7 separate regions of the Homo sapiens genome follow, and regions 2, 3, 4, 5, 6 and 7 are each linked to region 1. Evidence: promoter capture Hi-C in 16 types of primary human blood cells and fetal thymus (Javierre and others, 2016). All regions are on one chromosome and are shown on one strand. The core of a region is centred on a gene start or on the middle of the fragment in contact, and the rest is flanking DNA. Distances in the headings are between cores, read along the strand shown. Region 1 holds the start of KRT33B (keratin 33B). Region 2 overlaps KRT23 (keratin 23). Region 3 overlaps LOC107985072 (a long non-coding RNA gene). Region 4 overlaps KRT12 (keratin 12). Region 5 overlaps LOC105371777 (a long non-coding RNA gene). Region 6 overlaps KRT20 (keratin 20). Region 7 overlaps LOC105371777 (a long non-coding RNA gene).

Evidence for each region. The method cuts DNA at HindIII sites, captures the fragments that hold promoters and counts their contacts. A CHiCAGO score of 5 or more calls a contact.
Region 2: a contact is called between a fragment that was not itself captured here and the fragment with the promoter of KRT33B in region 1, in 10 of 17 cell types (total B cells, naive B cells, naive CD8 T cells and 7 more). The highest score is 9.8, in total B cells.
Region 3: a fragment that was not itself captured here is called in contact with the fragment with the promoter of KRT33B in region 1 in 2 of 17 cell types (total B cells and naive B cells); the score reaches 5.4 in total B cells.
Region 4: a fragment that was not itself captured here is called in contact with the fragment with the promoter of KRT33B in region 1 in 7 of 17 cell types (M1 macrophages, naive B cells, megakaryocytes and 4 more); the score reaches 7.3 in M1 macrophages.
Region 5: a fragment that was not itself captured here is called in contact with the fragment with the promoter of KRT33B in region 1 in 11 of 17 cell types (naive B cells, total B cells, naive CD8 T cells and 8 more); the score reaches 9.9 in naive B cells.
Region 6: a contact is called between a fragment that was not itself captured here and the fragment with the promoter of KRT33B in region 1, in 6 of 17 cell types (M2 macrophages, neutrophils, M1 macrophages and 3 more). The highest score is 7.3, in M2 macrophages.
Region 7: a contact is called between a fragment that was not itself captured here and the fragment with the promoter of KRT33B in region 1, in 14 of 17 cell types (M2 macrophages, naive B cells, neutrophils and 11 more). The highest score is 11.2, in M2 macrophages.

What each region holds. Positions count from the first base shown.
Region 1 is chr17:41,368,432-41,371,670 of GRCh38, reverse strand. KRT33B (keratin 33B) reads left to right here and starts at 1,858. Exons shown (of 7, transcript NM_002279.5): 1 at 1,858-2,268. The coding sequence starts at 1,921. The HindIII fragment of the contact is 2,505 bases long and covers 749-3,239 here.
Region 2 is chr17:40,931,759-40,934,845 of GRCh38, reverse strand. The region is part of intron 2 of KRT23 (keratin 23); the gene reads left to right. All of the region lies in intron 1 of LOC107985072 (a long non-coding RNA gene), which reads right to left. Among named protein-coding and RNA genes, the nearest start is that of KRT23, 4.3 kb to the left of the region's middle. The HindIII fragment of the contact is 2,542 bases long and covers 85-2,626 here.
Region 3 is chr17:40,955,685-40,959,222 of GRCh38, reverse strand. All of the region lies in intron 1 of LOC107985072 (a long non-coding RNA gene), which reads right to left. KRT39 (keratin 39) reads left to right here. Exons shown (of 7, transcript NM_213656.4): 7 at 364-806. The coding sequence ends at 622. Among named protein-coding and RNA genes, the nearest start is that of KRT39, 9.5 kb to the left of the region's middle. RefSeq lists an enhancer at 1,489-2,688. The HindIII fragment of the contact is 4,733 bases long and covers 1-3,538 here.
Region 4 is chr17:40,861,551-40,864,614 of GRCh38, reverse strand. It overlaps KRT12 (keratin 12), which reads left to right. Exons shown (of 8, transcript NM_000223.4): 4 at 751-912; 5 at 1,005-1,130; 6 at 1,272-1,492; 7 at 1,980-2,050; 8 at 2,857-3,064. The coding sequence ends at 2,954. All of the region lies in intron 1 of LOC105371777 (a long non-coding RNA gene), which reads right to left. Among named protein-coding and RNA genes, the nearest start is that of KRT12, 4.1 kb to the left of the region's middle. The HindIII fragment of the contact is 1,078 bases long and covers 764-1,841 here.
Region 5 is chr17:40,912,872-40,916,333 of GRCh38, reverse strand. All of the region lies in intron 1 of LOC105371777 (a long non-coding RNA gene), which reads right to left. Among named protein-coding and RNA genes, the nearest start is that of KRT23, 23 kb to the left of the region's middle. The HindIII fragment of the contact is 3,918 bases long and covers 1-3,462 here.
Region 6 is chr17:40,880,400-40,883,647 of GRCh38, reverse strand. KRT20 (keratin 20) reads left to right here. Exons shown (of 8, transcript NM_019010.3): 2 at 994-1,076; 3 at 2,878-3,034. The region is part of intron 1 of LOC105371777 (a long non-coding RNA gene); the gene reads right to left. Among named protein-coding and RNA genes, the nearest start is that of KRT20, 3.2 kb to the left of the region's middle. The HindIII fragment of the contact is 6,076 bases long and covers 1-3,248 here.
Region 7 is chr17:40,896,694-40,899,941 of GRCh38, reverse strand. All of the region lies in intron 1 of LOC105371777 (a long non-coding RNA gene), which reads right to left. Among named protein-coding and RNA genes, the nearest start is that of KRT20, 13 kb to the right of the region's middle. The HindIII fragment of the contact is 7,559 bases long and covers 1-3,248 here.

The sequences.
Region 1 (3,239 bases), core at 609-3,108:
TCTGTCTCCAAAAAAAAAAAAAAAAAAAAAAAATTAGAGATTCAGGCAGGAGGGGCAGAAAGTTGTGGATTGTGATTGTAGGGGAGGATATCAGTACCTTCAATGCATTCACCCTGGAAGACCACATGTTTGCCCCAAAGCTGCTGTCCTTTATAAAAGCATATTTGAAGCTTCTCCTTGGAAATGACTTCCAGAGTCACCCAAGAAAACACACATTATTATTTTGTAGTCACAACCTGTTTCTGACCCATTAAAGATGCTATGCAGCTTGGTTATTCACCCTATGCACTAGGTGTGGTTTCAAATGACTTCTGGCTGGTTCCAAAAATAAACACACCCATAGAAGATGAAGATTGGCCTTCAATGAGGATAACCAAAAGAATGTGTCCCAAGCTGTGAAGGCAAGTTTGAAGGAAGGGTGATCTGAGGAATGGCAGGTCACCTGTAGGAAAAGAATTCTTGTATGGCAAGACTTAATATGTAGCTTCCAAAAGGAACAACTTGGAGGAGTATCTTTCAGAATTTGAGCACTGATAGATTAAACATAAAATCCTCATATTTCATAGTTCCATCTGGAATGCATGAGAGTAGAGCATCTGCTTGCCAAAATGTGCCAATGGTCATAAAATGCCACTTCATGCACATGACATAGTGGTGGATTTTCAGGGTCATATCCTTTGGAGAGCTAGGCTTGGGTATTTCTCCCTCAGATCAACCAAGGGTTTCCTTTTTTTTTTTTTTTCAAGCTTCTAGTGGGTATGAGGCATTTTCACTTAGTAAACTTCCTTCCTTCAGCATAGAAGTGACTTTTGGTTCTTTAATAAGTAAAAAACAGGCTTGTTATTTTTTGGCCCATTCTAATTTAGGATATTGTCAGCACTGATTGAGCTCAATGGAGCTCAATCTGTATTTTTTGCATTATTGCATCTCAGTACTGAAAAGATTGGAAGAGAGAGACATGTAATATGACAGAGTGTGGACATTGGAATTAGAGAGATCTGTATTTGAACCCTGGCTCCATCATGTAGGAGCTCTGTGACCTTGGGAGACCTCTCAGAGGCTTAGGGTCCTTATCTACAAACCCTTGCAGCATTTTGAGAGGACTGAAGGAGCTGGTGCATATGAGGTGCCTGGCACTGTGCCTGGTGCACAGTGGAGGCTCAGCAAGCAGGACCCATCACCAATGACAGAGTCACGCTGTGCACAGGCATGGAGCACAGTGCTTCATGCAGAGTAGGTGCTCCCAAAATTTAGGTTTCTTAATGTTCTGTGAACACTGAATACTAGTAGAAACGGAGGTGGGTGGCTTCCTGCAGCCCCATAGGAAGAGGGTAGAGTTGCCTCCATCTGCCTGGATGGAACTGCAAATGGGCCTTGAACCAATGGCCTTGTAAGTCCTTTCTCATTTCAGCTTCCAGGATTCCCTATCACATAGTCTAGTTTCTAGACGGGTTTCCTTACATGGCTTTTCTCACAGAGTCTTAATTGAATATGAACTGGATGAGACACAAGCCTTTCCTCATTTAGGAGAAAGAGGCACATATGTGCCCCCTACTCTGGGGACAGGGCCCAGCTGTCACTCTAGCTCAATGTCCCATGGATAAGCACTGCTACAGGCAAGGTTGGTCACTTTGAAGCCAAACCATGAAGCTCTTACTTAACCAATCAGCATGTTTTGTGAGGAGTCCTGACTTAGCAAGAAGCCAGAGTAAAACATTTAATGAGGTATAGGACTCAGGTGAAGTGGCTAAATAACAAATGGAAAAATCAGCAAAGGAGGTAAAAAGGAGGAATACTTGACATGGTTGCCACACCCACTGCTAACAGAATATAAAGCCCTGGAAAGGACCAAGGCTTATCCCAGGGAAAAGGAATCAGGTTTTGAAACTGACTTCCAGAGCTCCACTGCCTCCCTGCACCATGCCCTACAACTTCTGCCTGCCCAGCCTGAGCTGCCGCACCAGCTGCTCCTCCCGGCCCTGTGTGCCCCCCAGCTGCCACGGCTACACCCTGCCCGGGGCCTGCAACATCCCTGCCAATGTGAGCAACTGCAACTGGTTCTGCGAGGGCTCCTTCAATGGCAGCGAGAAGGAGACTATGCAGTTCCTGAACGACCGCCTGGCCAGCTACCTGGAGAAGGTGCGTCAGCTGGAGCGGGACAACGCGGAGCTGGAGAACCTCATCCGGGAGCGGTCTCAGCAGCAGGAGCCCTTGCTGTGCCCCAGCTACCAGTCCTACTTCAAGACCATTGAGGAGCTCCAGCAGAAGGTGAGGAGGTGGGCACCACACTGCCAGCTTAATGAACTACTTATCTATATTTGACATACTAAACTGTGAATGGATCTAAGTCTGTTCACAGTAATGCTGAGAATGATAAAGACATAGATTCACTGGCTTAGGTATGACATCAAGTAGTCTTAGAAAATCTGTTGTAGAGCCACAAAGGAAGGATGCAGGCTGGTGTTAGAGTGAAGCATTAGACCAAAATCAGTCATAGCAATCTTATATGGCGTCTTACTCCAAACCAGAATATCTGATTTTTTGGTTTGATTATGATACCCTGGTTTTGTTTTCAGAGCATTACCGCATTTTCAAAAAGTATGCACCTGAATTATTTTCTATGCTAAGAATTTCCTAAGTAAATCTTCAAATATTTAAAGCCTTTCAAAGCTGTAGCAAAATATAGCATTTATGGCAACACAAGAGAGCTGTTGACTCCAGCAATATCTACAGACACATGGACCATCCTCTAGAGCAGCCATGTGTACAGATGACAATATGGGGCCATCTGTTCTGGAAGAGAAGTAGATATAAGTAAAGAGTCCACAGAGAATTGGGACTGAATACCTGGTGTAGGTTTGGGAGGGATCCCAGAAGAGGCAATGTCTGAGTGGGGTTTGAAGGATGAGTGGGAGTTTATATCCAATTGTACAAGCCCTTGATTCTGGGAGGGAATTGACTGCCCACTGTTCTGTAGATCTGGAAAATTAGATGCCAGAAAGGGGTTGTGCTATTTGAATATCATTCATTTATTTACCCAGAGTTGGAGAGTGTTAGGCACAGTGCTGGGGTGGGGGATAATGTACTGAGTAAGACAGTCTCCTTCCTTCAGGAGCTCACAGTCTAACAGGGGAGATAGATGTGGAAACAAAATGATCACACAAAGGTCATAAGAAGTGTTATTGATTAAGTATGTGGGTTACACAAGGGGTCTTGCTAGTGGGTGAGGGCATTCTGGG
Region 2 (3,087 bases), core at 106-2,605, 440 kb after region 1:
CTATCCAAGAGTTTTCTGCAATGATGGAAATGTTCCATATTATTTTATTTGATTCTGCAAGAACCCTGTAAGGAAATGGAAGCTTGGAAAAAAGTGAAATAGCCATCCAAAGCCATCAGCAAGAAGCAGAGGTGGGATTCTAACTCAGGTCTGTTTCCAGTAGCCTCATAAATTTCACTACAGTGTAGTGCTGCCTAGCCCACCTCATATAAAAATGACACTTAGTATGAATAAAGATAATGCATTATACTTGCATCATTAACCACACATCACATACTTCATACACATTGTCTCATTTAATCCTCACAACTGTGTGGAGCAGGTATTTGTATTCTCAACTTACAGATAAGGAGACTGAGACCTAATCATTGTCTAAATCCTTTGGAACAGAATTGAGAAAAGTGAGTAGGTGCAATGGGGGGTGTGGGGAGCAACCTGCCCACCCTTCAGATGACCTGGAATTCTGGGTTCTGAGATTGAATAGGAAACTTCTTTGGCTTTGAATTTCACTCTTTTCTGGATTTTTACCTCTAACATTGTGTTTTCTCTACACTTGAAGAAAGAAACTCTTTAAAGTTGAGGTTGTCTATCTACCCCAACCTCCCTCATTTGAAGATGAGAAAACAGAGGTGCAAGGAGGTCCCACAATTACCTGGGGCTTATCCTTCCTGGACCTTGGTGAAATGCTCTGAGTGGATACAGTTCTCCCGTACCCTCACTTTAGGTATATTAAATATCACTCAAAAGGTTGATAACAAGTTGAGCTTAAAAATTAATTCAATCCTTTTGAAATCCAGAATTGGACACAGTCATAGGAGTATCATAAATAAAACACCTTGAATGATTCTCAATCGGACTATATTTGGCATTTTTGTTTACAGTCAAACATTCTGTTTTCCTCTCCCTAGTAGATCAAACATCCTGAAGCAACAATGCTGCAAGAATATGCCAACTTGCTTTTAAAAGAATGAACTGAGGGCCTTCAGGAGAATCTGGGTGATTAATTACAACACTCAGTAAAAAACCTATGCCTCATATATCGTTTCTCAACCCATCTTCATCCACTTATTACCATGAAGATTGTGTCAGAAATGATGGTTATATCATAATTCTGTACTAAGTAAGCCTGAATAATGGGAAATAGTTTTAAACGTGCTCTATATCAAGCACATTTCAGAATTCACATTTGTGTGCTATGAGAATGATAGCTGGGGGAATCAGACACTTGAGGTGGACTTTGCAATGGATAAATTACCAATTTAACCCAGAAAAGCTAAATAAGCCCATAGACAGTATTTTTGATTTTCTGATTCTCTGGATGTAGATTAACACCTCATAGTGTGTGTCAAATAGAAAACCTCAGTGCACAAGTAAGTAAGGGTTACCCCACAATGGCCCCCAGGCTCTTTGGGATAGAGCTACTTTTCATTTTGCAGGAGCTTACATAATGCAAAGAATAAGGGGTCTGGAGGGAGAAGTATTGGTAAGAATGCCCCTAAGCAGCACTGTGGAGAGGAGACAAGGAAATATCTAAAAGTGTCCTTCTTTATAGCAAGGGAAGGGGCCATAGTACCATTTGGAATCCCACAAGAGGAAAAAGAATGAGGCAGGAGCAGCCAGCCTGGCTATGTCCCACCATGAACAGCAAAAGTCTGAGCAGGCATCTCAGCATATAGAACCTGGGGATGTTCACAGTGTAGTCACTGAATCTATAAAAGTGCTAGATTTTTAAAAAGAAAGGTGTATTATTTACTTTTTTCTGAACAAATTCAGTTTCGACCAATTTTTCACTGTCTATAATATGCCGATAATATGCTATTTGACATTATTTGACATACTCTCTTCTAATTCTCATAACTCTTTGATGAAGTAACTATTGTTATTGCTATTTTATGGATGAATAAACTGAGACTCAGCCAAGCTCACTCAGCCAATCTCACCCAGCCAGTAAGCGCGGAGCAGGATCCCAGGCCCTGCTCTTTGAGTTCCAGACCCAGCATTCATGCCATCTCTAAATCCTGCTATTGTGCATTCATGATACCAAATTCCATGGGATCAGTGGAGCTTTAAATAGGACCAGACTTTTAAAAGGTGCCTTTGTACTGAAGTATAGCTTTGTCCTAAGAAAATGCTTTCTAAATAAAGGAATGAGCTATGTAAATATAATGGGAATTACCCAGGATTCTCTGACTCCAACTAAATTACAGAAACTTAGAGCTAAGACCTCTAAGGTCCTCTGTCTCTAGTACAGACTCCTTATTTGACAATGGATGAAACTGAGGCCTGGAGAGTAGAGTGATGCAGCCTGATGCATCCACATGGATGGTCAAGAACAGAGCCAGAACCAAAGAAAAGCTCTAAGTTTCTAGTCCAGCACAACACTTGGCGTAAAAGCATTATTACACTTTTGACAACGAGACATCTTCTACCCTAAAGACAGTGACATACATCAAATGTGTGCTATTTCTCTGACTATAACATACCTACAAGTGTTTACAAATCATAAATGTATACACACTTGCTCGAGTAAGTGCTTTCAATACTATTTTTCTTTTCAAAGTAAAAAAAAAATTATACGAACATCTAGTGAAAGTCTTTAACTGGAGGCTTTACCACTACTGAAGCTTCTTAAGCATTTTCCTTAGATGGTAAGGAATTATTTCAGTTAATATTTTAATAGCTACAATGAGCACATTCTCATCACAGAATAAGTTGCAATGACATAAACACACCTTCAAGTTACAGTCACTTCGGGCAAAAAAAAAATGTGTTCTGTGATGACTATTACAAAATACATTGAATATTAGTGTTAGCGTTGCTCAGTAACACTGATTAGAAACATGATTGCTATCACAAGTAAGAATTATGTTCACCTGAAATAATAATTTTTGTATTTTTGGAGGGCTGAACTAATTAAAAGTAATGGCAAAAATCACTTTTTCACCAACCTAATACAATAAGAAAAGGATCAGAACCTAAAGTCCTTTTAACATCTTCAGCTGTGGATGAGCTTAATTAAGCAAAATGCTATGACATGTCCATAACCTAAAAAGTTAGAGGGCATTTTGAACAATTACTGTCCTTCCC
Region 3 (3,538 bases), core at 937-3,436, 410 kb after region 1:
ATGAAAAACTAAAGGTTGAGTGCGTTAAATGACTTAGCTGAGGTCACCAGCTGGTAAAGGACAGAGCTGGTCTCTGCCTCAGTCTTTTGACTGCTAGTGCAGTATTCTTTCCACAATGTGATGGTATTGACTAATGGAAACTTACATAATCGAATACTTCTAAACCTAGGATGCTGATTTCCAATGGATTTAATCTGATTCTTTTTCTTCCAGTAACTACAGTACAAAATAAATGAATAAGCATTTAGAAGTATGTACTTGTCTTGAGCAACACGTGTTAAAAAAATTAGCCACAATCATTTTTCTCCATGACCATCATCGCCTTCCCTCAATCACAGCTAAAATTGTGTTTTTTTTCCTTAGGCGTCCCTGTTACCCACGTGCCACCAAATGTGAGCCTTCCCCTTGGACATCTTGTAAGTCCGGAGCCATAGAAAGCACGGCCCCAGCTTGCACATCCTCATCCCCCTGCAGCTTAAAGGAGCACTGCAGTGCCTGCGGACCCCTGTCCCGGATACTGGTTAAAATTTGCACCATCACCAAGGAGATTAAGGATGGGAAGGTCATTTCTTCTTACGAGCATGTGCAGCCTTGTTTCATCATCAGACCTGCCAAAGTCTAACATCCCAAGGTGATGAAAATGACCCACATTTATGAAACAGAGGCCAATACATGCTCCTGCCAGAGAGGTTTAAGAAAACTCCCCAGTCCCTTAAGGTACTTAGTTTCTTACTACTACAGCGGGTCCCCATTGCTAGGTAGAATATCTTTTATTCTGCTCCTTCCCTAACTCACCACTGCTAACATGATAATAAATTACATTTCTCTGGAAGGATGTTTTGCATTTATCTGAGGGATGGGAACTGATTTGTAAGCACCCAGGAAGATGGCCTACATTGCTTGACTACCCAGGTGATTGATGGGCAGGTCTCTCTCTTGTTTACTCAGGCCTTGTTTACCGACATTCCTCCTTAGAGCCAGTCAGACAAGTTTAGGGTTGTTTTTGGCCACCGGCACCTGAAGGTGAAAAGCTACAACCTTCCCTTCTAAATGTCTTTGGATACAGAAAGAAACATATATGGGAACAGTATAAATAGGGGAAAAGATCTTTAATATTTAATTCACTTGTGTAGATAGTCACGAGTATGGATCCTATTAAACTCTGCTGTCTTAATTATGATTTATCTATACTAACATACTTTACCTTTCCAAAGATATTTTTTTAAATGTCCATGGTCTCCAAAACTTTGTGACCTATTAGGCTCTCCAAATATTTTATTTGAGAATCAGATAAGTTGTGGGGAGTGAATCTAGAACACTTTGAAGAAATAGCATGGGTCTTTTCATTAAACATTTGCTATTTCTCTTTCTATTCTTTAGGGAATGGGAGTTTGTTCTGATTGTTTGACAAGGAACATTTAGCTGGAATTCTCAAGAAATAACCCTTCTTCCCCTCCCTGTGAAGAGTGACAAAGAAAAACATAGCTTAGATTCCTGCTTCAATCTATCCATCAGAGTAAATGGACATAATATCCACACATTTTGCAGAAAAGCAATAGTGAATAATTGCTGCTTGTAAGTGCAAGGCAGTCCCAATGTGAGAAGGCATCATTTATATACCAGCCATCATCACAGCTTCTTACAGGATAGTCTCAGAATATGTAAGTCATTCCTGACAATAATCATTGGACATTGCCAGAGGTTTTAAGAAATAATTCAAAATCAAACACAGATGGGTAGTCAAAAGGCCTGAAGTCCTACACCTGCATTTCCCAGCTGTGACCTTGGGGAAAACATTTAGACTTCATCAAATTTAATTTCTGTGTTTGTTAAATGAGGATCATGCCTACTTCACAGGGTTGTTGTGATGATCAAATGAAATTGTTTATGTGACACTGCTTTGAATGCTGAAAAGCACCACCCAATGTAATTTTTATGTAAGTTTTGCTTTTAGCTACAGCCCTAGACCTATTTTTGTAATTATCTCATTTTAAAATTCTTTCTTCATGAATTTAGTTATCCAGTCATGATTTTGGAGTTTTAATAGTGTTTAACTTTTAGGAGAAAAAAAAACATGATTTCCTGTGATCAGGCCCACAATTCTACTCAATAAAGCATTTTTCAGTTCTTAGGGTATGTATCGCATATCAATGAGTCAATAATGCCTGATGCCCACATCAAAGACACATGCATTGTGTAACTTACAGCTTGATGATTTACTTCCTCCAGACAAGTAGCAACTTACACTAGGCAAGTGGAATGCAGAACTCCCAGAATGACCTCTTTTAAATCAATAATTTCTCTCTCATCTGAGTGGGCAGAGTACCTCCGGTCAGTAGTTAACTGCGTACTATCTCAGGCTGCAGGATGAAAATGTGGAAAGAGCATGGAACTGGGATTCAGAAACCTTGGGACGGAGTCTCAATCCAGCCTGGGCATGTATGACCTCGAGTAAATAGGATATAACAATATAAGCCCTGCCTACCACACGGCTGCAAGGATAAAATGGAATAATAATGGTGAAAGGGTCTCATAAACTGTAAGGTGCTTTGCAGAAGGGCATTCCTATTCCCTATATTTAAACCTAGACACATGTCGTTTCCATCAATACCTTCTTCCTTTCTTTCTGGTTCAGTGCTGGGCCCAGGTGGACCTTGATATATATCATCCACACTAAAATCTGCTCCGAGCTACAAAATTAGGGTTGAGGAATCTCACTGGACTCAAGCTAAGATTGAACTGATGCAGCAGTGCCATTTTCAGTTTATCCTAGAAGTAGGATGCCTTCCTCCTATGGAGAGCAAAATATCCCCCATGCCATTCATGGTTTTAAAAAATATATGATTATAAGCTGCACAGTAAAGAGGGGAGTTAGCCACTCGAAGGCTTGCAGTTTTGTTTTTTTTTTTAAGTGTCTTCTTCGTATAAGAGAATGTAAAACCATTTGCTGGTTGTATGCATGTGGTCAAAACTTTTAAAGGCAATAAGGAGACTGGATTTTTACTAGGAGGCTAAATAAGTATCCTACACAGCCACAGGAGGAAATTTAAGGTTTTATGACAGTTCAGCATAAGTCAGCAGCTAGAGCAGAAAAGGGGCTCGTGGGGAGGGAAAGTGTAATTTTAGCACAGTTCGAAAGACAACCATGAATCAGGAAACACAGCATGGTGTCCAGAGCCTGAGGTCAAATCCTATATCTCTGCTTCTCACTCTGAGGGTCCATAATTATATTTCTTAAAAAGGGAGATATTTTAGATATATTTTTTCTAGATTTTTTTCCTTTCTTCTTGTTGACTCCACTTCATGTCATAGCTAGTTTAAACTCTTCCAAACACAGAGGTAAGTAACCACGCTTCCCCCTTTCTCCTTGCCTCTCACCCCTTAACTGTCCCCCATCACCTGCCCCCATCACACAGCCCACACCCTTTGCATCCTTACTTCCCAGAGCCAATTCCAGCAATTGCTGATCAGAAGAGACTACCCAGAAACTTTTCCTCCAGAGTTCAGTTAGTGGTAACCCCTTACCTGACGTCCCGCC
Region 4 (3,064 bases), core at 53-2,552, 510 kb after region 1:
GTAGTAGTGATGGTGGTTCCTGCTAAGGCTCAACAAATTTGAGGCACTTTCTGATTTTGTCATTTTCATTATAAGGCAATGACAATAGGAATGCTAACAGTCCTAATTCAGTGATTTTAAAAAGACTGAGTATTTTAAAAGTTAAAACAAAAGTCTACCAATAATATATAATGTTTTATATGTCAGAGAAACTGGTTATACTTAGCATAATGCACACCAGAAAACTCTGAGGTGCCATGGTGCATATTGGAGGCTAGGTAGGGAAGGGATGCTGGCAATAGGAAGTTTCTACTAGATTTTCGATGATTGTGGCACAAACAGCGTGCAAGCCCAGGTACTGTCTGCAGCCCTCGGTTTGGCAGCTGTAGGTGAAAACCCCAGTGAGTGTACGCCAGGCCTCCTTTCACGTGAAGGTCGTGGTCCCTCAAGAAGCAGAGCCAACTTACCCATTAGGCACAGCAGGCACTGCTCCCAGGGTCTGTGGTAATTTCAGGGACCCATGAATATGTCTTAAGTTCTTGTAATATCAGAAGAAAAATATGAATTTTGAGGTTAAAAAAGTTTTAATGTATTACATTAATATATTTGTCTTTATACCAACAGTCATAAGATAGAATTTTTAAGTGTGTGTGTGTGTGTGTGTGTGTGTGTGTGTGTGTGTAGGAAGGGGCCCAAGAGGACAAAAGTATCCAGGGCCCACGAAAGTCACAATGGACCCCTGTGCCCCTCTCTCTCACATGCTGTCCCCAGGAGCTCCAAAGCTTCCGGGTGGGCGGCCCAGGCGAGGTCAGCGTAGAAATGGACGCTGCCCCCGGAGTGGACCTCACCAGGCTCCTCAATGATATGCGGGCGCAGTATGAAACCATCGCTGAGCAGAATCGGAAGGACGCTGAAGCCTGGTTCATTGAAAAGGTAACACAAACAACAAAGGCTTTGATACATTCACAGAAAGGCCTGCGAACGAGCTCAGCGCTCGAGCCCCCTGGCTGTCTTTGCTGTTGCAGAGCGGGGAGCTCCGTAAGGAGATTAGCACCAACACCGAGCAGCTTCAGTCCAGCAAGAGCGAGGTCACCGACCTGCGTCGCGCCTTTCAGAACCTGGAGATCGAGCTACAGTCCCAGCTCGCCATGGTAGGCTCGTGCGCAAACAGACGTAGCATCCTTTGGACTTCCAAAGAAAATGCTGCATCCAAATTACATTAGCCGTTGGCTACCCTCCTCTTTTCGGTCCCCTCCATCGTTATTTCTATGCCATTTCCCTCCCACGTGCAGAAGAAATCCCTGGAGGACTCCTTGGCCGAAGCCGAGGGCGATTACTGCGCGCAGCTGTCCCAGGTGCAGCAGCTCATCAGCAACCTGGAGGCACAGCTGCTCCAGGTGCGCGCGGACGCAGAGCGCCAGAACGTGGACCACCAGCGGCTGCTGAATGTCAAGGCCCGCCTGGAGCTGGAGATTGAGACCTACCGCCGCCTGCTGGACGGGGAGGCCCAAGGGTGAGCAGACAACGGAGGCTGTAAACACCTTCAGGGGCTGACCAAGAGTGGGCAGCAGAAATAGAAGGAATGGGGTTTTAGTTGACAGAAAAGCAAACAAACAAACACAAGTCTAGTAAAGATATGCCTGGGATTTACTAAATGCTCTACACTTTGCAAAGTGTTTTCACCCATTATCTTACTTGATAATTCATAAAATGCTGCAAAGAACAAAGGCACCACGGTCAGAAACAGTTTGTAAATGAGTACTCCCTGTACTATAAAAGTCACTTACTCAATTTCTGATATCAAAGACCTGATGATAAGAAGGACACATAGTAGCCACCTGAACCACCTACTCTAACAAGCTTTCCAAAAGTGATCAGAGTCTGCACTAGTTGGAAGAACTCAGGCCTACAAATTGGGAAATCTAATTTCTCAGACCAGATCTTCCATTAAAAGCCAGGTTGTTTCACTTTTTGAGGTCATCTCCTTTGTTTTCTTACAGTGATGGTTTGGAGGAAAGTTTATTTGTGACAGACTCCAAATCACAAGCACAGTCAACTGATTCCTCTAAAGGTATGCAGAAACCCTAGAATCACTTAGAATAAGTCGGAATCACATTTATTAATGCAAAACCTGTAAGACCTCATTGACTACTGCATTATTATTAATTTTAATTTAAAGCATATTTATATTCTGAGCCAAGGAAAAACATTTATGCATTCCTGCACAAAATGAGTAGTCTATACCATATTAAAACTTTTGGGGGCCTGGGCATGGTGGCTCATGCCTGTAACCTCATAGCTTCGGGAACCTGAGGTGGGAGGATCGCTTGAGGCCAGGAGTTCGTGACCCACCTGGGCAAATAGCGAGACCCCATCTCTACAAAAAACTTAAGAAAAAAAATAGCTGGGTGTGGTGGTGTATACCTGTGATCTCGGCTACTCTGGAGGCTGAGGCAGGAGGACCGCTTGAGCCCGGGAGTTAGAGGTTATAGTGAGCTATGATCATGCCACTGCATTCCTACCTGGGCAACAGAGCCAGACCCTGTCTTTAAGAAAATTAAAATTAAAATTAAAAAATAAAAAAAATGGCAAAGCAGAAGGGAAAAAACCTACTCTGCTGCAAGGTATTATGATCACCATAACCACCTTTGAAATGTTTTCTTAAAAAAAGTTTTCATATATGTACAAGGCAACACTGAATACATTTCATTGTCATTGGCTAAAACACATTTTTGAGAAGTAAAATTTACTTTTGAAAGTTTAATTAGATGGATTGTATCAACCAATGCTTAATTTAGAAGCCTACATTAAACAACCAGTGTTGGATTAATATTTGAAACACTAACTCTTGCCCCCTTATTCCATTTTTATCTTTAGACCCAACCAAAACCCGAAAAATCAAGACAGTTGTGCAGGAGATGGTGAATGGTGAGGTGGTCTCATCTCAAGTTCAGGAAATTGAAGAACTAATGTAAAATTTCACAAGATCTGCCCCATGATTGGTTCCTTAGGAACAAGAAATTTACAAGTAGAAATTATTCCTTTCAGAGTAACATGCTGTATTACTTCAATCCCTATTTTTGTC
Region 5 (3,462 bases), core at 330-2,829, 460 kb after region 1:
TTTAAGCCAGTGAGTTTTGGGGTCATTTTTCATGCCGCAATAGGCAAGTGAAACAGAGTATTTTAAACAGAAGACTCTGTTATTTGCTCAGTGACAATAGCTGATTTAAGGCGAACTAGTTCATTTGCATCCCACCAAACTTTTGACCAGCATACTAGTCATTTTAACACTGACATGGACCTCTAATGAAAGTCCTGGTCTAATAACAATAGATGACATCAAAACTTTCAAGAGAAAAGCAAAGGTCTACCCTCTTCAGAGATGGTAAAGAGTAAAGCCATTGCACATGATGTTCACAGCTCTCCTCTCTGCTCCTTCCCAAGTGGGACCAAGCAGTGTAGCTCCAACCTGAAGTCAGGGCATCCCCTGCTCCTCACTTAAGCATGCTGGGATGCCCAAGGAAATTCTTTTTCTTCTCGTTGAGTTTCAATTCCTTTTGACTCTCTTTTAGTTCCTCATTCCAGGGACATTAACAATTTCTCTACAAATATTTATGCCTCCAATACCACACAAACCAACAGTTTCACTGAAAGGAGATCTCTTTTCAACATAGTTAAGCAATGTTCTCCCTCACCAAGAAACTATAAGTCATTTACAAATTAAGGTGATCATAATTATTACGTAGCTTCTAGTCATAATATTTAAAAGTCATTAAGAGTATAATTCATTTATTCTAGCCATGATTATTCACAATGCTATACTCTAAATGCTATACTTTTCTACAGCTTTTAATCAATAAATACTTTTCAGATTTTTGGTGTTTACATATCACCTGAAGTATTTTGTTGGTTATTTCCCTATGGTAACAACATTGGTTTTCCGAATGACTATAGGCCTACTTTCATTCCCATGTGTGACTCATTCCCATCTCATCTATTCTATTACAACATCTACGTGTCACCATCTCTCTGAAGAGAGTTAGAGAGTTTCTAAAATATACTGGAGGTGAGATCATGCAAAAAGGAAAAGACAGTGCTTCTCACATACCTAACGATCTGATGATCTAATCATACTCAGAAGTTTTACCTTGAACTTTGTGTGTGTGTGTAACTATTTCAGTACATGGGTTGTCCTACTCACCCAAACTTCCCATTGAAATTTAAATGGGAATTCATCTAATAAAATTATGAGTCATCTAATAGAAACTACAAGTCAATTTTTGCTAATTCCATGGTATGCATACGCAGCATAGCATGTATGCATTGACATACACACACATGTACCAGAAGTTTTTTAAATAACAACTATCCTTGACTGAGCTTTACATTCACAATCTCATTTAACATTTATCAAAACCTTGTGGCATATCATTATCTTTATTTTATGATTGGGGAAACTGAGGCTCAAATGGACTGCATTAACTTGCCTGTGGTCATACAGCTATAAAATGGTGGAAACAGAATTTGTACCCAGTATATTTACTCTTTGTGCCACACAAGTCAAAAGTGCTTGCTAGAGAGTTATGTAAAATCTGAATATGGGCAACACATTTTGATGAGCCCTTGCTGATGGCTTTTATCTAAGGTAAGAGCCCAGGTATGAGAAATCTGGATTTTCTATTTGAAAATCAGAACTCATATTTTTCAGAGGCAATTGGTAGTTTGACATCATTTACCTGGATCTTGTTCTGACAAGATCCATGAGTCAGAAATAGACACTCAGGACCAGAGGACAGGTTTTTATAACCAAAAGCTACCTTCTCATTAATCAAACCTCAAAGCATCCACTGCTTTCATACAGAGGTGTGTTCTTAACTTGTTTTAGCCTAAAACGAATCAGCATCAGGGACGATGATTGCTTCCCTGAGAGAGTTTAGCAAGTTCCAAACCTGGAGGACCTCAGACCCCAACCTGTCCAGTTAGACTCCACACTCACTCCTGTTTTCTATCAAAATTTTCTTTCCCCACACACTCACAGAATATGATAGGACAAGAAAGACAAAGACAGGGTAGTAATAATGGACAGGCCACAGATACACCCAATACCATCAACAGTCATCAGCTGAGAATATTTTATCCAGAGATTCATCACAAAAAAAATATTGTGAAAATGTTCATGTATCATCCCCAGCACCCTAGGAAGCAGTAGTTTCAGGTCACCACCCAGTCCCAAGCCTTATATGTCAGTGCTTCCGAAATCTTAATGTGCATACTTATCATATGGGGATCTTGTTAAAATGCAGATTCTGATCTAATTGTTCTGGGTTGAGGCCCAAGATTTTGGACATCTAACAAGCTCCCAGAGGATGCTAAGGCTGCTGATCCACGAGTCGCAAGATTATGGGTGATTTTGATCAATTAGCAATTCGATGCATTCCCCACAGTGAGTGTCGTGTCTATAAACCAGTCTCAATAGGTCCTCTATCAACTGAACAGGATAAACAACACAGCAGGAAAGGTGGCATCGTTAGAATCCCACTAGCACAGTCTTGCTCCAAGCAAGCTAAACCTGCAAGAGCACTAAGTCAGGCCTGGAAGGAAGATGTTTCTTAGGTTCTCACCAAGAACAGAAGACAGAATGAAGTCTAGAAATTAAGATCGATCACTTTGTCCCAAATTTTTCCTGGACTCCATGCGTAGTAAAAGCTATGAGAGGTTCACAAATCAGATTCACAGGAGAGGATGGAAAACACTTGTCCAGGATTGTCTATTGTGTTAGCTAACTAGCACTAAAAAATATACGTCTATATTTATGTATAAGTGAGTATTCACTTATAAAAATCTTTCTAAATTCTCTTCAAGGGCCATTTCTTTCTTCAGTGAACCAAATGATGGCTGAAGTTTTAAGAATAAAAACAACAGCCAGACGCAGTGGCTCATGCCTGTAATCCCAGCACTTTGGGAGGCCGAGGCGGGTGGATCACGAGGTCAGGAGATGGAGACCATCCAGGCTAACCCGGTGAAACCCCGTCTCTACTAAAAATACAAAAAATTAGCCAGGCATGGTGGCGGGTGCCTGTAGTCCCAGCTATTCGGGAGGCTGAGGCAGGAGAGTGGCGTGAACCCGGGAGGCGGAGCTTGCAGTGAGCCGAGATTGCGCCACTGCACTCCAGCCTGGGCGACAGAGAGAGACTCCATCTGAAAAAAAAAAAATAATAAAAAAAAATAAACAACAATAACTCTAACTGTGAAATTGCGTCCTATTCCATACTAAATTAAATCAGCTTAGACAGGCTGCTTTCATTTGTGTTATGGATGTCATTATTCTTTGTTTTCAAGAAATTTGTATTGGAATGAATGGAGTTGGAATAAAGAACCAGTGAAGAAGTGGTCATTAAATACCTGCTTCCTGCCTACTGCGGTGTGAGTCACTATTAGGAAGACAAAATAAGGAAGCTAGAACTTTAGGGAAGGAAATTACAATATACAAAAGAGTCCCTTTGCCCAACTGCAATTCCTGTCACCCATAATCATGGTAAATAATCCTAATAATTATTACCCTTGCTTGTATCATGATAAGGAA
Region 6 (3,248 bases), core at 273-2,772, 490 kb after region 1:
GAAAGAGAAATGTCATTGTAACATCTTCTGCAAGTAGATTTTTCATCTATATGCCTCCATCATGCATTTCGTTCTTTCATGCATCATGTTCTTTCATTCAGCCAATACTGAATGAACACTAACTAGGTGCTGGGCACCATGCTGGGGACTGAGGAATATTATGGTGGACACAATATGATTTATGAGGATACAGGGATGGACAGAGGGACCAGCACACAGAGGGATAATGAGAGCACAGGCAGATCATCCAGTTCAGTTTTGAGAGCATCTGTGAAGGCTCCTATGAAGCAATGTTGTCGAACCTGAGACATGAGGGAGGAATGGGAGTTCACCAGACCACAGGGGCTAAAAGAAATGTCCTAAGTAGAAACATCAAAGGCAAGGCACTCAATAAGGTGTGATGACTCAAGTTGAGTTAAATTATCCTTCTGTAAAATCACAAGAAAGTAGACCAAACCCTGGGGCATCTAGAGTTGCATTTTATGACTCTGTTATGTTAAATAACTATGTCATTATTTTTTCTATATATTTTCATGTAGAAATACTTGAAATGAACATCATTTTTGACATAATAGTCACTGTAGCTGGGGATAAACTAAATCCTTGTAAACTCCTATCCAGTTGAAAATGTCATTCTTGGCCGGGCACGGTGGCTCACGCCTGTAATCCCAGCACTTTGGGAGGCCGAGGCAGGCAGATCACCTGAGGTCAGAACTTCAAGACCAGCCTGGCCAACATGGCAAAATGCTGTCTCTACTAAAAATGCAAAAATTAGCCGGGCATGGTGGCGGATGCCTGTAACCCCAGCTACTCGGGAGGCTGAGGCAGGATAATTGCTTGAACCTGGGAGGCAGAGGTTACAGTGAGCCGAGATCGTACCATTGCACTCCAGTCTGGGCAACAGAGCAAGATTCTGTCTCAATAAATAAATAAATAAATAAATAAATAAATAAATAAAAAAGAAAATGTCATTCTTTCTCATGTATTTTCCAGATTAAGGATGCTCAACTGCAAAATGCTCGGTGTGTCCTGCAAATTGATAATGCTAAACTGGCTGCTGAGGACTTCAGACTGAAGTAGGTTCCCTAATACGTGGCAAAAGTTTCTGAAAAAGAATTCCTTTAGTAGTCCTTCCAGATACTCAGCTTTCCATATCATTGTTGATAAAGGAAGCACGGTTCAATGTCCAGAATCCTGAAGCCTAAAGGAGGTTAGAAGCTACATGTATGAAGCTAACCCAGCACTCAGGGATGGCCTTCTCTTTCTTGATCCCCCGGCATGTAACTAAACACCTCCAGTAACTACTATTCTCCTTGGTTATTACTGGTTGCTAAATTTTTTTTTAGTAACCTGGTATCTAAACCTAATTCTGCCCTTTGGAGTAATAACAAAGTAATTTACAATTCTCCTTCTCCCTAAGTGCCTTTCTGTTATCTAAAGAGAGTCTTGTGTCTACCCTTGGTGATTCTCCAAGTAATTCTCCACGTTCATTCAAGTGCCTGCAAGTGTATGACCCAAGTTCCAGGGGTGACTCTTGATGATTTCTGGCTTGCCAGTGTTTTACAGGATGGTCTGGCCAACCAAAGAACCAGGACCAATCTATAATAATTAGCTGGGCGTGATGCCGTATGTCTGTAATCCCAGCTACTCCGGAGGCTGAGGCAGGAGAATCGCTTGAACCTGGGAGGCGGAGGTTTCAGTGAGCTGAGATCGTGCCATTGCACTGCAACCTGGGCAACAGACTGAGACCTTGTCTCAAAAAAAAAAAGGAAGAAAGAAAGAAAAGAAAAAGAAAGTAAAAATTGTGTTCACTTTCTTTGTAGTCATCACACCACATGTGACCAGACCTGTTCCTTGCAAACAGCTTCCACACTAAGGCCTCTTCATCCTGAATTTGTACAATGCATTAACACCAAAAAGCCCTTTGTGGTTAGAAGGGTAGCCTTTTAATGCTCCAAGGGATTAACAAGAAGGAAATAGGAAATCAAATCCAAAGATGAAAGCAGTAAAGGTGCATTACTTCCAATTTTACCTAGCACTGAGTGTCACATTGCAGTGTCATTTTTTAAAGTTGGATATTTTAGGAAACTGGGCAGGGCATGCATGATGGCTAACGCCTGTAATCCCAGCACTTTGAGAGGCTGAGGCAGGAGGCTCACTTGAGTCCTGGAGTTTGAGAACAGCTTGGGCAACGTGGCAAAACCACATCTCTATACAAAAATACAAAAAAAATTAGCTGGGCATGGTGGCATACATCTGCTGTCCCAGCTACTTGGGAGGCTGAGGTGAGAGGATTGCTTGAGCCCCAAAGGTTGAGGCTGCAGTGAGCCATGATCACACCATTGTACTCCAGCCTGAGTGACAGAGTGGGACCCTGTCTCAAATACACACACACACACACACACACACACACACACACAGTGTGTATGTAAGATTGTAGAGGAGGATGTAGAGCTGTTTGAGATAATTCACTTTGGATGTCTCTGTTCACAAAGTAATAAAAATAAATCGATCATGTACATTCATTAAGTAAAACTAACCATTATTTAATATCAATAATAAGAACCCTTTGCCAACACAATAATTAACACAATTTAATTTCTTATAAGATAAATTCTAGAATTTAGAAGTGTTCAAAATTATTTCAGATTGCCTTTTTACCAGTCACCCCAAATTATAGAGATTATATTATTGAGCACATTTTCTGACTCCTAGGTTCTTATGTAAATTTCATGATTGTGTAAAGGCAGACATTATAAAGTATTGAAATTGATCTCCTCATAAGCCACATTTAAAAACCTATCCCATTATATTAGATTCTCTCCTTATAATGGCTTCAGAAGGACCAGTTATCTCTGTACACTAATTAATTCACAGGTATGAGACTGAGAGAGGAATACGTCTAACAGTGGAAGCTGATCTCCAAGGCCTGAATAAGGTCTTTGATGACCTAACCCTACATAAAACAGATTTGGAGATTCAAATTGAAGAACTGAATAAAGACCTAGCTCTCCTCAAAAAGGAGCATCAGGAGGTGAGAAAATATTCAGAAGTGGTATTGGAAACAATGGAATGGTTCTATATAATACTAATAATAGGAGGAGCGGGAGAAACAGGAGAAGGGGGAAGAGTTGGTGGTGATAGTGACAGAGATGATGACGATGACAATAATGATACAAGCCCTACCTTCTTTTCATAATGTTGTTGTAAGTTAAATGACTTAGAGCAGCACCTGGACCACAATAAGC
Region 7 (3,248 bases), core at 20-2,519, 470 kb after region 1:
TTAGTGGCCTTTTCCTTGCCACCACCACCAAGTTTACAATTACAGTACTTCTACTATGATCACGGCTGCCACTAAGAAGCTACACCTCACTGGGTGCTTCCTACATGCCAGGTGCTGTACCTGCACTTCAGATATGGCATTTCATTTAATCCTCACACCACCACCATGCTGGCCATTATTATGGTCTTCCACTTTCCATATGAGGAAAGTGAGGCTCAGAGAGGTTATGAACCATGCCCAAGCAAGTAGCAGAAATAGGATTCAAGTCCAGATCTCTAAAGTCTGTGTTTTCAATCCTGGGTATCTATAACATTAGCAGAGTGCTCAGAATCATCAGTGGAAAAAAGAGGAAAAAGTGAAGTGGGGTGGTTTTGAATAGCACATGAATATGCACACCAGGATGGAGGCATTCTTTCATTTTTTCCTTTGGTCTGTTGTTAAATGTATGTATATCGTATTTCCCAATAAATTAGAAAATGGAAAAAATAAGTCATCAACCTTTTTTCTCTAAATCAAGGAACATAGAAATCTGACATATCCTTTACATCAGAATGTTGTGAACACATATATACATATATATGTGTATATATACATACACTGCATATAGGTAATATATACCCACACATACATACACACACATAAATTGTAACCAGACGCACATGGTAGTAAAATGTGTGCTTTTAAAAAGCCACTGGGTACATCTCTAAGAAAGCCTCACATGATGTAGTAACAAAATGAGCCCTGCAGTAGGGAACAAAACGAATTATTGGTATAGATCAATAGTTAATAACGGTTCAGCTACTAACATGGGGCATGTCAGAGTAACACACTGGGCAAATACACTTACAAGGAGAAATACAGAAGAATAATCCAAAATAAATTACCAATGAATTGTTTTATGATAAAAGCATAAGTTTTGGAATGGTCTTTAAAAGACAGATTTAAAATGTTTGAATCAGGCTCGGGTTTGAAGCCTTTTTTTTTTTTTTTTTTCAAATTGACTTTATTCTTTTCTCATTAAAAGAGCTGTTCCAGGCTGGGTGCGGTGGCTCACACCTGCAATTCAGCACTTTGGGAGGCCAAGGCAGGTGGATCACTTGAGGTTAGTTCAAGACCAGCCTGGCCAATATAGTGAAACCCCATCTCTACTAAAAATACAAAATTTAACAGGGCATGGTGGTGCGCACCTGTGATTCCAGCTACTCGGGAGGCTGAGGCAAAAGAATCACTTGAACTTGGGAGGTGGAGGCTGTAGTGAGCCGAGATCACACCGCTGCACTCCAGCCTGGGCAACAAAAGCGAGATTCTGTCTCAAAAAAAAAGAGCTATTCCATCCCAAAAAGGTTTTATGATGATAGTTTTACTTTGGGGATTATTACCTCTGTATATTAATATCTCAGTACAATTTTAAAACACCAATGCTTTAAAATAACACACAAACTACTGTCACCAAACCAAACCAGGTCCGTTTGCCCTCAGGCAAAGTTAAGTCAAGCACCAAAGCACTGGGTTTTGGCAGTGAGAAAGGTTTATTGTGAGTAGACTGACAAGGAAACTGAAGGAAATGCTCAAATCTGTCTCCCTGAGCTTGAGGCTAGGTCAGGTTTCATAACCATAGGGTAATGAGGATGATCTGATCCTGCAATGAGGTGATGCTGGGAGGCATGATCTGACTGGACCCTGCCATGGGGTGTCCGCTTCTTAATTCAGTCCCCACTCCTTAGTCCAAGCACTTAGGTTCCTGCACACTTGGTTCATCTGGGCATGCTCAGGGGGTCCATGGAACTGAAAAACAACTCACAACAACTCACAACTCTGTAACATAAAAGTTGAACCAGATCAGTCTGATGACGTTATGCTACTTACTAAGTCCATGTTGATAAAACTGAAAAAATACGACCTTTAAAATCTTTCTTGTAGTTCTACCAAAAGAGATTTCATTCACATTTCCACATCAAAAATGTTGGTTGGATAATTTCTGGGATACTAAGAAATAAAAAGGCAAAGACAAAATGATCATAATCATTATAACAAACCTCAGTCTTTTTTCTTTTTTTTTTGAGACAGAATTTCGCTCTTCTTGCCCAGGCTGGAGTGCACTGGCGCAATCTTGGCTCACTGCAACCTCTGCCTCCCAAGTTCAAGCGATTCTCCTGCCTCAGCCTCCTGAGTAGCTGGGGTTACAGATGCCCACCATCACACCGAGATAATTTTTGTATTTTTAGTAGAGACCGGGTTTCGCCATGTTGGCCAGGCTGGTCTTGAACTCCTGACCTCAGGTGATTCACCCACCTCAGCCTCCCAAAGTGCTGGGATTACAGGCATGAGCCACTGTGCCAGGCCCAGATCAGTCATTTTAATACGAGATTGTGACCAGCCAGAATAACTGGTTTCCATTTTTGCTCTTCGATTGATTGATCATTGTATCTAGGGTCAAATTTGCTGTATAGTTTTTCAGTTTTAACAATGCTAAGGCCCTATGTCAGTGTAATCAAGGGAAAGAATCTAAATTAGATATTAAAAACCTGAATCCAAATTCTGGTTGAATGCCATACTTATTACGATCAATAAACATAAATGGTGGCTCAACACACACTGTAGTAAATAATGTGCTTTTAAAAAGCCACCAGATAAATCTCTAATACAGCCTCCAATGACTTAGGAACAAAATGAGTCCTGCTGTAGGGAAGAAAGTGAATTATTGGTATAGATCAAATTGCCTAGAAACATCGTGTGTCAACATTAATGTCAGTTCCTTGGAACAAATATATTGCTCCTTAATTACTCCATGCTTTCAGATGATAGCTCATTTCACAGAGATGCATTTATTTTGAAAAAGTATACATAGCTACCAGCCTGTACACTCTGTCAACATAAGGGTTGGCCATAAAAACCTGTTATATTTTACTCTGGGCAGCAATTATTTAATATCCCTCAACATATGTGTCAAACGCATAAGAAATTGCTCCAGGCTTTTCCACATTTTCATTGCTTAAAAAAGTAGAAAACGCCAAACAATGAGGCCTTCATAGAACCTGAGGCATCAAAAATATTAGCTGCATTGTGAAAGCCAAATAGGAGCAACTTATTCTTAAAAAAGAATACAATTAATAAACCACATCTCCATTGACACCTAGTAAGTCCCCAGCAAGGTGTAAAGCCCCGGATTTATAAGGCTACGAAACATATTACAGGAATAAAACCCTAAACCACAAAAAGGTGTACTGTCTACAACGGTTGTGGTCACT